Regions from separate parts of the Homo sapiens genome. Here all the other regions are linked to region 1. The links are contacts of gene promoters, found by promoter capture Hi-C in blood cells and fetal thymus (Javierre and others, 2016). All regions are on one chromosome and are shown on one strand. Each heading gives the region's core, a stretch centred on a gene start or on the middle of the fragment in contact. The rest is flanking DNA. Distances are from core to core; before and after follow the strand shown.

Region 1 (4,263 bases), core at 960-3,459:
GGCAAGGGGACAAACTGCTCATACTGTCCTTCTCTTGGGACTGTTTTTCACTCCCTCTTCACCTAGTTGACTCCTTCCTATTCTTTGGATCTCAGCTCAAATGTCACTTTCTCAATGAAGTCCTTCCCTGATGAGTTCAAACCAAACCTCTATATTAAGTATACACTCAATTGCTGCCATGTAGTTTCCCCTAATAGTAGACTGGAAAAGTAGCCACCAATTCCTCTACCAACCACACCATCCGTAACATTTCCACTGCCCTCTCACTCTGATCCCTCTAGTCTAGGCCACATGGCTTGCATCCGCCAATAGTGTATCAGCAAACATAACATAGGCAGAGACTTGAAAGGCACTTGTGCAGTTGACTTGTCCTGCTCCACTGTTTTGGAACTCTGAAACCATGGAAAGAAGCCTGGCTGAGGTGCTAGACAATAAGAAACACGTGGCCCCTGCTGACGACCTGCCAATGCCGTGACACAGAAGTGAGGCCTCTTAGATCATCCAGCCGCCAGCTGACCAGAAAGGTGAGTAAGAGCCCAGCTGAGCAGAACCAAGGTAAAAGAACCACCCAGCTCACTCAGAATCCCAAGCTAACCAAACGATTGTAAAACGTCACTAAGTTTTGTGGTGATTTGTTACACTGCAAAAGTGGATACAGTAGCACATACCTCAGTGGCAATTTTACACATCTTTGATTAGCTTCTATCACTGCCACATAACTGTGAGCTCTCTAAAAGCACAGACTATTCTGACCTTAGGTTACTGTGCCAACCTCAAAGCCAAGCATAATACCTGGAACACACCAGGCATCCAACCAATAACATGCTGAGCGAATGCAAGGAGCAAAGAGAGATACACATTGTAACACAAGCGAATAGGGGAAGTTCAAAACAAAGGACTGAGGACATCTATTTGTACAAAATAAAAACTTTTAATCAGCAGCACACGGCAGCGAGGAATACAAGACCAAAATCACATTTAATCTGTCTCAAAGGGTTCAAAGTCTAGGGTACAGGAGGCAGTACAAAATCAACGAAGTGTACTGTTTGAGCATTCCAACACTTCGCTCCTTCAGACAGTATTAGGACCCCGTCCCAAAGCGTTAGGACAAGGCCCTAACGCTGCCTGAAAAAGTGAAGTGACGGAGGATCCCAGAGAGGTTTCTTGAAGCAGATAAAGTCTGAATTGAGGCCGGGCCCGGTGGCTCACGCCTGGAATCCCAGCACTTTGGGAGGCTGAAGGGGGGCGGATCACTTGAGGCCAAGAGTTCAAGACCAGCCTGGCCAACATGGCGAAACCCCGTCTCTACTAAAAATACAAAAAATCAGGCCAGCATAGTGGTGCACGCCTGTAATCCCAGCTATTTGAGAGCCTGAGGCAGGAGAATCGCTTGAACCCAGGAGGCGGAGGTTGCAGTGAGCCGAGATTGTGCCACTACACTCCAGCCTGGGCAACAGAGCGAGACTCCATCTAAAATACATATATAAATAAACAAAGTCTGAATAGAGTCCTTGCAGTATTTACTGGGAAAAGCAGCACACGCAAGGCCAGGAGGGTCAAAGGGACAGAGGCGTTCAAAGGACAAAGGAGAGCCTCCTGTTTGTTTGGGGTTTTATTCTTTTTGAATTTTTGTTCCCCCAGGCCAACTCTAAGAGCCAGAACTGTTCGTTATTTATCTCAGCACAGGTTCGGTGTAAGCGTTGCCTCCTTACCCGACGCTCAGGCCCTTCAGGTCCGGGACCCCTGCTTCTTAATTATGTTTCTATTACTCCCAGTGTCTAACACAATCTCTTCCACGAAGTCGGAACTTGATACATATTTGCTGAATAAACGAAAAGTTAAAGATGAGGCAGAAAGCACAGCTCCTTCCAAGGGCAGCTCTCAAGAGCCCACGTTTTCAGATTCAGCAGTGAAGCGGACGCGTCTGGTACGAGACTACAAGTCGCACAGGCGGAGAGGGGGCCCCCGGGCCTCTGGTTTCACGTCTCCCTCCTGGTCCCCGGCGGACCGGCGTCTTTTCTCCCCTGCTCGGAGTAGCCTAGCAGCGCTGGAGGCTGGCTGTCTGGTAAGCGCGGCTGTTAGAGAGGATGGAGGCGCCGTAGCCCCGCGGTGCTTCTCACAGCCTTCGCCGGCAGGGACGCGCGGGACAACCGCGCAGGCGGCTCTGCAGGGGTGGGCGCGCCATCACCCCTCTCGGTCCCTGCCTGCTTGGCGCTTTCCGAGCCCCAGCCGCGCTCAGGCTGCCTCGGGCATTGACCGCGGGGGCGCGCGCCCCGTTTCCATAGAAACGCCCGGCCTGCCGCGGCGGCGCGAGGGGCGGGCTTTCAGGCTCCCGGCGGCTGCTTGCGCCCCAGCGCGCGCCCAGGCGCCTTGGAATCCCCGTCCTTGGGCCCCCGCAAGGTCCCCGGCCGTGCGCGAGGCAGCATGATGAGGCGCACCCTGGAAAACCGGTAACAGCCCGAGCCCAGCTGCCCAGGGCCGCCCACACTGGAGGGCTGGGGTGAGGGAAGTGGAAGCCTCTGTCCATGGGGCCTCTGCGCCGAATTCCGACCCTGAGTGGGAGGCTGCACGGTCCCCGCTGTGACCTGGGGCCTAATTCCTTGGGCTGCAGCCACCGCCGGCGGCGAAGAGGAGCCCGGGGCCCGGCCGGCTGCCACCCACCCACGCCACCGGGTCTCGGGTCCCCACACTGCCGCGGGCAGTGCGGAAGCCTAGGAGGCAGCCGGGCGCCCAGGCCGCGCTGCGCGGAGCAGCCGGAGCAGCCACCTCCCCAGTTAAGGCCAGGCCCACCCGGCCTGGGCCTTTTCCTGTGCCTACACAGTCCGGATAGTGAGGTCAGGACCCCATGGAGAGCAGTCCGCGCCGGGAGACGCTGGGTCGTTGATGGGTTTACGCCTTCAAAGCTGCAGAATGCCCGGGGAATGTTTGCATGTTAAATTAACGTGAAGCCTTCTCATCTCTAACGAGAATGTTTTGCCTTTTGTGTCACCTTTTCCCTAGGAACGCTCAAACGAAACAACTGCAAACAGCTGTCTCAAATGTGGAGAAGCATTTTGGAGAACTGTGCCAAATCTTCGCTGCCTATGTGCGGAAAACTGCCAGGCTGAGAGACAAAGCAGACCTCCTGGTGAATGAAATTAACGCGTATGCTGCTACAGAGACCCCGCATTTAAAGCTGGGCCTGATGAACTTTGCAGATGAGTTTGCCAAACTTCAGGATTATCGACAAGCAGAGGTATGGAGTGAGATCACAGTGTCATTGTTATGAATGAGCCATGAAGTAGTGGATGAAGGAACCGTGGAAACTTTCACTTGTAATCTACCTAACTGCAGAGGTGGATGCAAACTTGATAAAACGTACATTTTCATAAGACTGTGTGAGTCTATTAAAGAGAAGCGTTCTGTGTTTTATTTTACCCTTTTCAAGCTAACCTTTAGGGCATCTTGAGGTCTTGAATTTCCCCACTTTATTTGCCAACTTTTGGCCAAGGGGTGGCTGTTTACTGGGGGTAGTGGGAATAGTACCCAGGGGGAAGAAAATAAGCATAACTTAATGTCTTGTGTGGCACATAAGTACGTTTTAAAGAATGACTGGAGATGGAAATGTTGGGAATGGTAATGTGGATGGATAAATTATTAATAAATGGGTAAGACATCATTGCTGCATCCATGGTTTGGAAAATTGACCAATGGTTTACTAACAACAACAAAATGCTATGAATTGTATCATGGAAGCAAACCAATACTGAGACACCGTGTGGACTTTTTGCTCTGGGTAGCAGGAGAAGTGTCCTTGTGATTGTTTTCTTTCTAAAAGCCCATATTTTTCCTTTAAATACTTAATAAGCACTTTTACTTGTATTTATTTTCAGTTTCACGGCATAGGTTAACTTATCAGAAGTTGCCCAGTTAGAACTGCGTTGCTTTTTTATACTTTTCAGAACCTAAAACGGGAATTTCAATTTTCAAAAAACAGAATGAGTATAAAAAAAATTGAACTCATCATTGCTATCCATACAAATTTGAAGAGTAATCATATTTGGAGGTACTTTTGGAAAAATGTGGAGTTCTTGTCATGAAACTTCTGTAATAAACAAGTAACTCTCAATTATATATGATAACTGGGGACTTAATGTTTCAAAGATAATTTATATTCACAGGTAATCCTAAAATCTTATTTTAGCCAATAATTTCAATGCCCCTTTGTAGAAAACCTTTGTGCTATTTATCAAATAGCAAAGTGAATTGATTTGCATTTGTTCT
Region 2 (4,263 bases), core at 1,284-3,783, 240 kb after region 1:
CACAATGGCGTGCCCCAGCTTGCGTGTGTTATAGCTTGTACCTGTGTTCAGCAGTTCTCGAGGTCTTGTACTGCGCCCAAGAAGAATGAGGATATGCTGGATATTGAAGGGTGAGGAGGGTGGAAAAGAATTTTATTGAGTGATGGAACAGCTCCCATTGGAGAGGGGATGCGCGGGGTGGTCCACCACCTCACAGTTAGGTGGTTCTCTCCTCCCTGCGTGGCTGGGTCCAGGGCTTTTTATGGGCTCAGAATAGGAGTGGGGCACACTGTAGGTAGTATTGGAAAAGGGAACATTCAATTGGTTAAAAGGCATTATTCAGAAATAATCAATTGGGAAGGGCAGGCAAACAGGAACAAAAGTTCTCACTCAGTCTCAGGTTTAATCCAGGGCCAGCAGTCTGGTCTTTCAGCCTTCAGGCTGTTTTTGGCTTGAAGGTGAGATTTTACTGGGGTTTGTATCCCCAGGTCCTGGCGCCCTCAGCAGGGTGCCACCCATTGGTGCCAATGCAGCTTTTACCCATGTTAACAGGGATGCCTAGTGGGTAGGAATTATCGCATTCACTTACACGTTGTCCTGTCCTCCCTCCTCTTGGTAACCTCATCTATTCCATGGATGCTAGCATGACCTTTATCCATGAAATGGGTGGGGGGAGCTAACCAGCAGGAATTAGTCATGCTCACCTGCGCTGTGCCCCTTGACTTCTGTTATCACCTGCCTTTGGATCACTCCGATGTAGTTTTCCTTTCTAGGAATTCAACCTGAAGCTCCAAATTGAGTTTGGGGCAAGAAGGTGCCTTAGGAGGGTTCATGGATGCATTAAATTAAGTCCTATGTGGCCCTCACCAGACTGCAGCCAGCAGCCAGTGGGGCTGCTCCTTCACTGCTTCCTTATCATAAACCCAATGCTAAGGTAACGCGTGGAACCGGGTCTTCCTCAAACAAGGGAGTGAAAGGGAGAATTGGGGTCCTGGCCTAGTAAGATGCCTTTCAAAAGGAAAAAAATCCTCTAGCATAGAAAAAGCTCCCTGTATTTGCAGGACTGTGTTAACTCCTGACATGGTGGAGAAAAGAAAAAAACAGCTTAAGTGCAGGGTGGGGAAGGTGCCTGGGGGAAAAAGCCTCTTGATCTATGCAATTGGGTTCCTCCAAAAGGGAGAGAAATTCTTAATCTGTGCTTCCTTTTTGCCTCTAAGAATAGACAGAAACTGCATTGTTCTGAATTGCATATCTGATGGCTGGGCCAAATGCTCTTTCCACCTAGTAATATTTCTGTAGTTTGCAACAACACCCTTAACATTGTAAGGGAGATAATGCCATGACATCTGTGAAAAAAAAAGAAGGAAAATGCTATAGGAAAAACTGGATTGGAATGAGGCTGACATTCCCAACCCCAGAGATGATGGAGGTGGGGATGTCGAGGTCCTTTCCAGCATCCTGTCCTCTTAGTTGCGCCATTGCTCTTAATTGGCTCACCAGAGGTTTGGTGCTTCATCTGCCTTCAGAAAAGAGTCTGAGGACAAGAAGCCTCGGAAAAAAGTGAAGTGTCTACGTCCGCATTTACTCACCCTTCAGGTATCCTGGGTTATTCCCCAAAATGATGTAGGATTTTTCTTTTCAGTCAGTTTGCAAGCCAGGGACCCCCAGTTGGTGATGCCCCACCCGGTCCTTGCTCGACCATGCTGGCATGCCCCAGCTCACCTGTGTTATAGTTTGTACCTGCGTTTGGCGGTTCCTGAGCTCTTGTACTGTGCCCAAGGAGAGGGGAGAATAATTATATTGAGCAACTGAACAGCTCTCAGTGGAGAGGAGACACGGCGGGTGGCCCCCAGCCCTGCAGTCGGGCGGTTCTCTCCTCCCCACATGGCCAGGTCCAATGCCTTTATGAGTTCAGAATAGGGGTGGGGCAGGCCATAGGTAGTATTGGAAAAGGCAACATTTGATTGGTTAAAAGGCATTATTCAGAAAGAATCGATTGGGAAAGGGCAGGCAAACAAGAACAGAAGTTTTCACTCTGAGTTGTGGGTTTCATCTGGGACCAGCAGTCTGGTCTGTCAACCTTTAGGCTGTTTTTGGTTTAAAGGTGGGGTTTCACTGGGGACCCGCCCCTATCTGCCTAGGCATTTGGCTGCTTCCTGTCGTTATCATTGGTACGGAGATATTACAGTATTGCTGAGCTGTTTTTGAATTCCATGCACAAGCACTCTGATCTGGATCCGCACCACCGTGCACCAAACCGCTACGCTTGGTAATGGGTTCTACTTTGTGTGCACTTTGCTCATCATACAGAATGGATTTCTGTGTCTTCTCAGTGCTAATACCACACCATTTGCAGCTGTAATTCCCACTGAAGGGGCTCCTCCCACTACAGCAGCTAAAGCATATTCAGTGTGGACAAGTGTACCAGATGGGCTGAGTGTAGTCAGCAAGAAGCTGTACCTGTGCTCTGCCATCTTTACCTGGAGAGCCAAAGCACATCCCCTCACTTTTCTTCTCTGGCTCCCAACCTGACTTTAACTGTGTTTTCCCTCCGTGCCTCTGTGCAAAATACCAAACACAAGTACTGGAGATCCAATTCCAGAATGGCAGTGTGAGAAGTTTCTCGGACCTGCTTCCCAGTGAAACATCAGTAATTGGTGAAAATTATTAGGAGAAAAACCCCAACACTTAGAGTCACTGGAGATTGTCCAGAGAACATACAGCAAATGAATAAATATTTATTCAAGTAAATCTACTAAATTTTGGACAGTGAGAGTCTGCGACACTTGATCTGCTCCCTGCCTCCCGCTACCCTCAAACTCCATGTGATGGAAGATCCACTGCAGGTTGGGTGGCCAAGAATATGGAGACCCAGCTCCCAGTCTCTCCCAGAGTTCAGGCTGCCAGCATTTCTCTCATCCCCTTCTCCATGTGGCAGAGGCTAAATTCTCAGTGAGTACAGCCAAAGAGGTGGGGACTCCTGTCCTTCACTCAGCTCTCTACTGCTACCCTAGACATGACAGGTTGAAAACACTAGGCCCCAGTTGCTTTTGCCCCGGCTTGCTTTTAGGGCAGATGTTGCTCACTGGAAGAACCAAGCCAAGAAAACTAGATGCTACTGCTCCTGTCCAGCATGCTGCTCATAAAACAAGGGTGTCATTTTGAAAGAAGTGTGCCACTGTCCCCACCCCCAGCTCCGGAGCAATGGTACAGAGGTTTTGCCCAGGGAGAGCAGGCCATAAGAAGAGAGAGCTCTGGCTGGGCACGATGGCTTATGCCAGCACTCCTAGCACTTTGGGAGGCTGAAGCAGGCAGATTGCTTGACCTTAGGAGTTCAAGCCCAGCCTGGGCAACATGGCAAAACCCTGCCTCTACAAAAAATACAAAAAAAATAGCTGGGTGTGTGGTGCATGCCTGTAGTCTCAGCTACTTGAGGAGCTGAGGTGGGAGGATTGCTTGAGCCCAGGAGGTCAAGGCTGAAGTGAGCTGCAATCACACCACTGCACCCCATCCTAGGTGACAAAGTGAGACCTTGACTCTAAATAAATAAATAAGAGAGAGAGAGAGCATGAGCTCTGAGCTATCTTTAAATAAATTGACTTTATCTTAAGCAAAATGTGAGGAAGTTGATGCCTGAGGGCTCTCTGGAAAACAATGGAAGTTAAGGTGATAAGCAATTAAGAGGAGGCTGGTAGCCCCAGGGGAGCTATGAGCTAACACAGGTCAGCTGATTTACCAAAGAGACAAGGGGAGGGGTAGGGGAGAAAGCTAAGAAGATCCTTCCTGGGGTTGGAACAAACCTCAAAGACTAGCCTCAAAAACCACTCCTGCAAATAGGCCCAGATTTAATTGGATCCAACGGTAATTTATGCTGCAGGACATCCAGGACATTATCAAAAACAATAGAGCAATCAACATGCAATTAGTGGAGCCTAACAGCTGGATGTGATACCAACAGAGGCAGACAGCTTAACAGAGAGATCAGGGAAAGACGCAAAGAAAGCCCTGCTAAAATCACTGTCACTTCTGGGTGACTGTGCAAATGTCCAAGATCATGTCCTCTGAAGATCAACTTCAGAGGCTTCACTGTGGAGAAAATAGACTTTCCTGAAATAGCCCTGACATGTCACTAAAAAATAAGAAAACAACAAAAAGTAGCTCTATAGGTTTGTAGGGAAGAATCAGTATATAGCATTCTTAAAATATATTATTCAATTGTCTAGTTTTCAACAAAAAAAGGCAAGATATGCAAAGAATCAGGAAACTGTGACTCACACACAGAGG
Region 3 (4,263 bases), core at 903-3,402, 200 kb after region 1:
ACAGGTCATGAGACATTTTGGGGTGATCATTGTTATTTTGATAGGGGTCTCAGTTACATAAGTGTATGGATTTGTCAAAAAGAGAATGTTCACTTAAAATTTGTACATATCGTTATGCATAACTTAACAATAACTATAAATAAAACTAAACTTTAATGCAATGTATGCTGAAGTATTTAGGGAGAAGTGATGTCTGCAACTCATTTTGAAACGTATCAATAAATTAGATGGATTGATGGATGGATAGGGATGAATAGATAGGTAAATATGTGATAAAGCAAGTATAGTAACATGCTGTGATAGAATCTAGGTGGTGGGTATATGAATGTTTAGTATTAAATTCTTCCATATTTTCTTCCACTGAAATCCTGTGTTTCTGAAAATCTTCATAACTTATATTGGATATAAGTTCATTAGCTTCTTTCATCCTCCAAAACTGGTACATCCTCCTGTTCACACTTCCTTTGGTTCTCATGGTTTCTGGAGGCAGAGACAGCCTTGCGACTACAGCTACCCATGCAGTGCTATTTGAGGGACTCCAGAAGGCATCTCTGCTCAGCATCCCCCCTCACCTCCTTCTCCTACCAGTCACAACAGAAGATTTCTTTTTTTTTTTTGAGATGGAGTCTCGTTCTGTCACCCAGGCTGGAGTGCAGTGGCATGATCTCGGCTCACTGCAAGCTCTGCCTCCCGGGTTCACGCCATTCTCCTGCCTCAGCCTCCCGAGTAGCTGGGACTACAGGTGCCCATCACCACGCCCGGCTAATTTTTTTGTATTTTTAGTAGAGACGGGGTTTCACCGTGTTAGCCAGGATGGTCTTGATCTCCTGACCTCGTGATCCACCCACCTCGGCCTCCCAAAGTGCTGGGATTACAGGCGTGAGCCACAGCGCCTGGCCACAACAGAAGGTTTCTACTAAGCATTTATTTCTTTAGATCTAGAGGGAGTTTAGGTCATCACAAATCTCCTATCAATATGCAAATATTCCCAGGTCAGGGAAGTAATTTAAACCTGGGGGGACTTACTTGTCAAATAAAGGAAAGCAGAGTCTTTTGTGACAGTAAATAAAATATACGGACAAGAAAGAGAAAGAGAGAATCTATGTAGGAGGCTAAGACATGTCAAAGCCAAACCACAATATACAGTTTTGCCTAGAGCCAGGTGTTTGAGACCTGGCTTAAACCTTAAAAAAGTACGGTTTATCTATAGGGAATAACTCTAATCCCCGTTCCTCAAGGGATAACAGCCAGAACCTAGAAATAGAGTCAAGATCATGGTCATCAAAACACAATTCTCTGGCCCCAGGCTTGTTTGCTCTATAGAACTGAAGTTCCTCAATTTCCTCCACTTCATTCTGGGAGGCATTAGACGATGTCTTGTGCACGTCTGAGAATGAATCCTCTCCCTCCTTGACCTGCTGAGGCTGTGAGTTTCTCCTGGGCATGCCCGCAAGGTCTGGATGCCTGCCTGGAGCTGATTTCCTCTCCCATGCCATCTCTGGTCCAGATGTAGGCTTGGTTCAGCCCATGCCTCTGCTCAGCTGCTTTGCCCATTCCGAGTTCTAAGACCCGAATGAGGAATGTTCCCTTTGTCCTCTAAATCCCCATGTTTTCCCTAGAAACTTCACTGAAACCCTGTTTTGCATATATATATATATAGTAGAGACGGGGTTTCACTATGTTGGCCAGGCTGGTCTCGAACTCCTGACCTTGTGATCCGCCTGCCTTGGCCTCCCAAAGTGCTGGGATTATAGGTGTGAGCCACTGCACCTGGCCTCCTGTTTTGTACTTTCGATTGCAGCCTCTTCTCTTCAAGGTTTGGGTACAGCTCATGGGGGCAAGACTGGGGCCACCTATGGGACAGACTAGGGCTGTACTGATAGAGCCACCCCTTATCACTGACTCAATGTTCTTGGACTGTCTTGCAACTCTCTTCTCTTTCCTCAGGATGAATTCTCAGTTCATCCTGAGGAAAGAGAAGAGAGTTGCAAGACAGTCCAAGAACTAAGGCTTTTTGTTCCTTCATGTAAGTAGGCCACCCATAACTGCTTCCCCTTCTGTTTCTTTTGAGGCACAACTGAATTACGAGGAGATCCCAGCTGAAGCTATCAGGATGGGACACTAGTTTCTGAATAAAAATAAATGGATGCAGACTTCAAGTTACATTACTGCATTCCACTGAGAGAGAGTCTTATATCTTCAACTCCTTGCTTATGAGCTTGGCCATGTGATTTGCTCTGGCCAATGACCCATTAGCAAATGCGACACAAACAGAGTCTTGGAAACAGTTCTACAATGGGAGCTGCCTTCTTTTCTTCTTTTGGAAGACAGTAGCCAGTAGCCTGAGGTAGGTGCTAGATGCTGCAGACACAGGGCCCAGTTGCTTTTGCACCATAGCCAACTACCAGATGTGTGAGTGGGGCCATCTCTGATCAATCAGCTTCTGGCTGACCTGCCAGCTGACTGCAGCCACATGTGTGAGCCCAGGCGGTACCAACCAAATAACCACCTAGCTAAGTTCAGTTCAAATTGCCAACACCTGGAATCATGAGCTGCTCAGTAATTATTGTTTTAAGTCACTAAATTCTGGATTGGTTTGTAAGGCAGAAACAGATAAATGATACACTGTTGGGTGGGCAGAAGAGGAATTGATGGAATAAGCATCCATAATTGATTGAGGAGATAAGACCTAAGGTCCTTTTCAGATTCTGAAATTATATGATTTGATGAGAAAATCCCAATGTCTGCAATAAGTGTAATGCATGTAATTTAAATTTATAATTTAAGAACTTTTCCTCTCTTCTCCTATCTTTTACGTTTACAATCTCAGAGATATGTGACTGATTATCTACACCGGGATCTTATTACTTCTTGGCCATGCCTTGTTCTGTTGCCACCAAGTACCCCAAGTACACAACCTTTCTTAAGTGTGCACTGTTTGTAAAATTTAACTTTGCATCATTCATATCCTAATCTTGAATAAGAGCTACATACATAAAAAGAGTTGAGACTTATGTATGAATTAATTTTTTAAATAAAAAGATATTGAGATCACTTGCAAAGTCACACACAACCATAAAGAATGCAGCTGCCATAACATTAAAGGAAATTACCTCTAGGCTTCCATCCAGTATGATGCAATTTTCAAGGACTAAGACAGAGGCCTTGAAAATGGGCGGCAATAATGGAAATGCTGACATATCCATAACTCCCACTGCTTAAGGAATGGTAAAGAAAGACTAGAATAATAATGACACATTTAGAATCCCCAGTATTTTTACCTAGTGTTGGCAGCAAGTGATGGAACAGGCTTTCATAATAACATTATAATTAAATTACAAATTGTTTGTCTAAATAATTTCTGAAAGTCAAGAAAAACAGTGCTGTATTTAATTTGGGATAAGATTTCATTTTGCTGAGGTTTTTGCTTCCTGCTCCCAAGTGAGAGGTTTCTCAGATAAGACCCTACCCTGTCCTGGTTTACATACCTGGTGTCCACGGAGGGAAATGCAGGACAGAGGCAGATGAATCTTTGTAAACAACAGGTACTGTTGCACTAAGGACTGTAGGCCTGGAGTTCTTGGAAAATGTCCTTTTTCACCTCCCCCCTCCCCTTCCCTGGTTTTGACACAGTTTTCTCTTTGAAAACACAGGGATATCAGGAAAGAGTGTGAACAGAGTCTCATCTCCATTTATGCTCTCCCCATACCCCCTGCTCTGCTTGCAAGTCCCCCGAGGACCTCAAAGGGTATCCTCCTCCAGATACTGAGAGCTGACCCAGCAGGAGGGGCCCGGGAAAGTTTGAAGGTGCAGCCACCCTTATTCATTACAGAATGTCCTCTCTTCTTATCTTGCCTTTTTTTAGCCTGAAGGACAAAGAAAGAGAGAGGAGTCTCGATTTTCCTTGTTAATCTGCTCCAGCTGGCAGCCTGTCCAACATTTGAAATCATCTGTGATGTAACAATTATTTTTTTAAAACACTAACATCCCATTTTATGTAATTTTATGGGATAACAGGATGGCAATTTAGCTTAGAAAACATTTTGACCAACGATCATTCAGACAAATAAAAATGAGGACAAAAAGGATGACTGTGACAAGCAAAATAGAACAGCCTGCTATGCCAAGAACTGAACATGAATCATGCTTTCCAAAGGCCACATTGCTTATCTGTTCTATAATAACCTGGAACCTCCTCCTCATCAAGTCTCTCTTGGGCTCCTTAGTAGCCCAAGGTTAACAGAGGTATGGACTTAGAACAGG

Evidence for each region. The method cuts DNA at HindIII sites, captures the fragments that hold promoters and counts their contacts. A CHiCAGO score of 5 or more calls a contact.
Region 2: a contact is called between a fragment that was not itself captured here and the fragment with the promoter of CIBAR1-DT in region 1, in 14 of 17 cell types (total CD4 T cells, naive B cells, naive CD8 T cells and 11 more). The highest score is 8.7, in total CD4 T cells.
Region 3: a fragment that was not itself captured here is called in contact with the fragment with the promoter of CIBAR1-DT in region 1 in 1 of 17 cell types (naive CD8 T cells); the score reaches 5.1 in naive CD8 T cells.

The regions. Positions count from the first base shown.
Region 1 is chr8:93,698,224-93,702,486 of GRCh38, forward strand. CIBAR1-DT (CIBAR1 divergent transcript) reads right to left here and starts at 2,210. Exons shown (of 11, transcript NR_033858.1): 1 at 1,713-2,210. It overlaps CIBAR1 (CBY1 interacting BAR domain containing 1), which reads left to right and starts at 2,327. Exons shown (of 9, transcript NM_145269.5): 1 at 2,327-2,450; 2 at 3,001-3,235. The coding sequence starts at 2,425. RefSeq lists enhancers at 1,846-1,925, 1,955-2,579 and silencers at 2,146-2,195, 2,226-2,365, 2,556-2,675. The HindIII fragment of the contact is 5,458 bases long and covers 1-4,263 here.
Region 2 is chr8:93,940,425-93,944,687 of GRCh38, forward strand. It overlaps the pseudogene PSMA2P2. Among named protein-coding and RNA genes, the nearest start is that of PDP1, 26 kb to the left of the region's middle. The HindIII fragment of the contact is 6,976 bases long and covers 1-4,263 here.
Region 3 is chr8:93,894,794-93,899,056 of GRCh38, forward strand. No RefSeq gene overlaps it. Among named protein-coding and RNA genes, the nearest start is that of MIR378D2, 19 kb to the right of the region's middle. The HindIII fragment of the contact is 8,617 bases long and covers 1-4,263 here.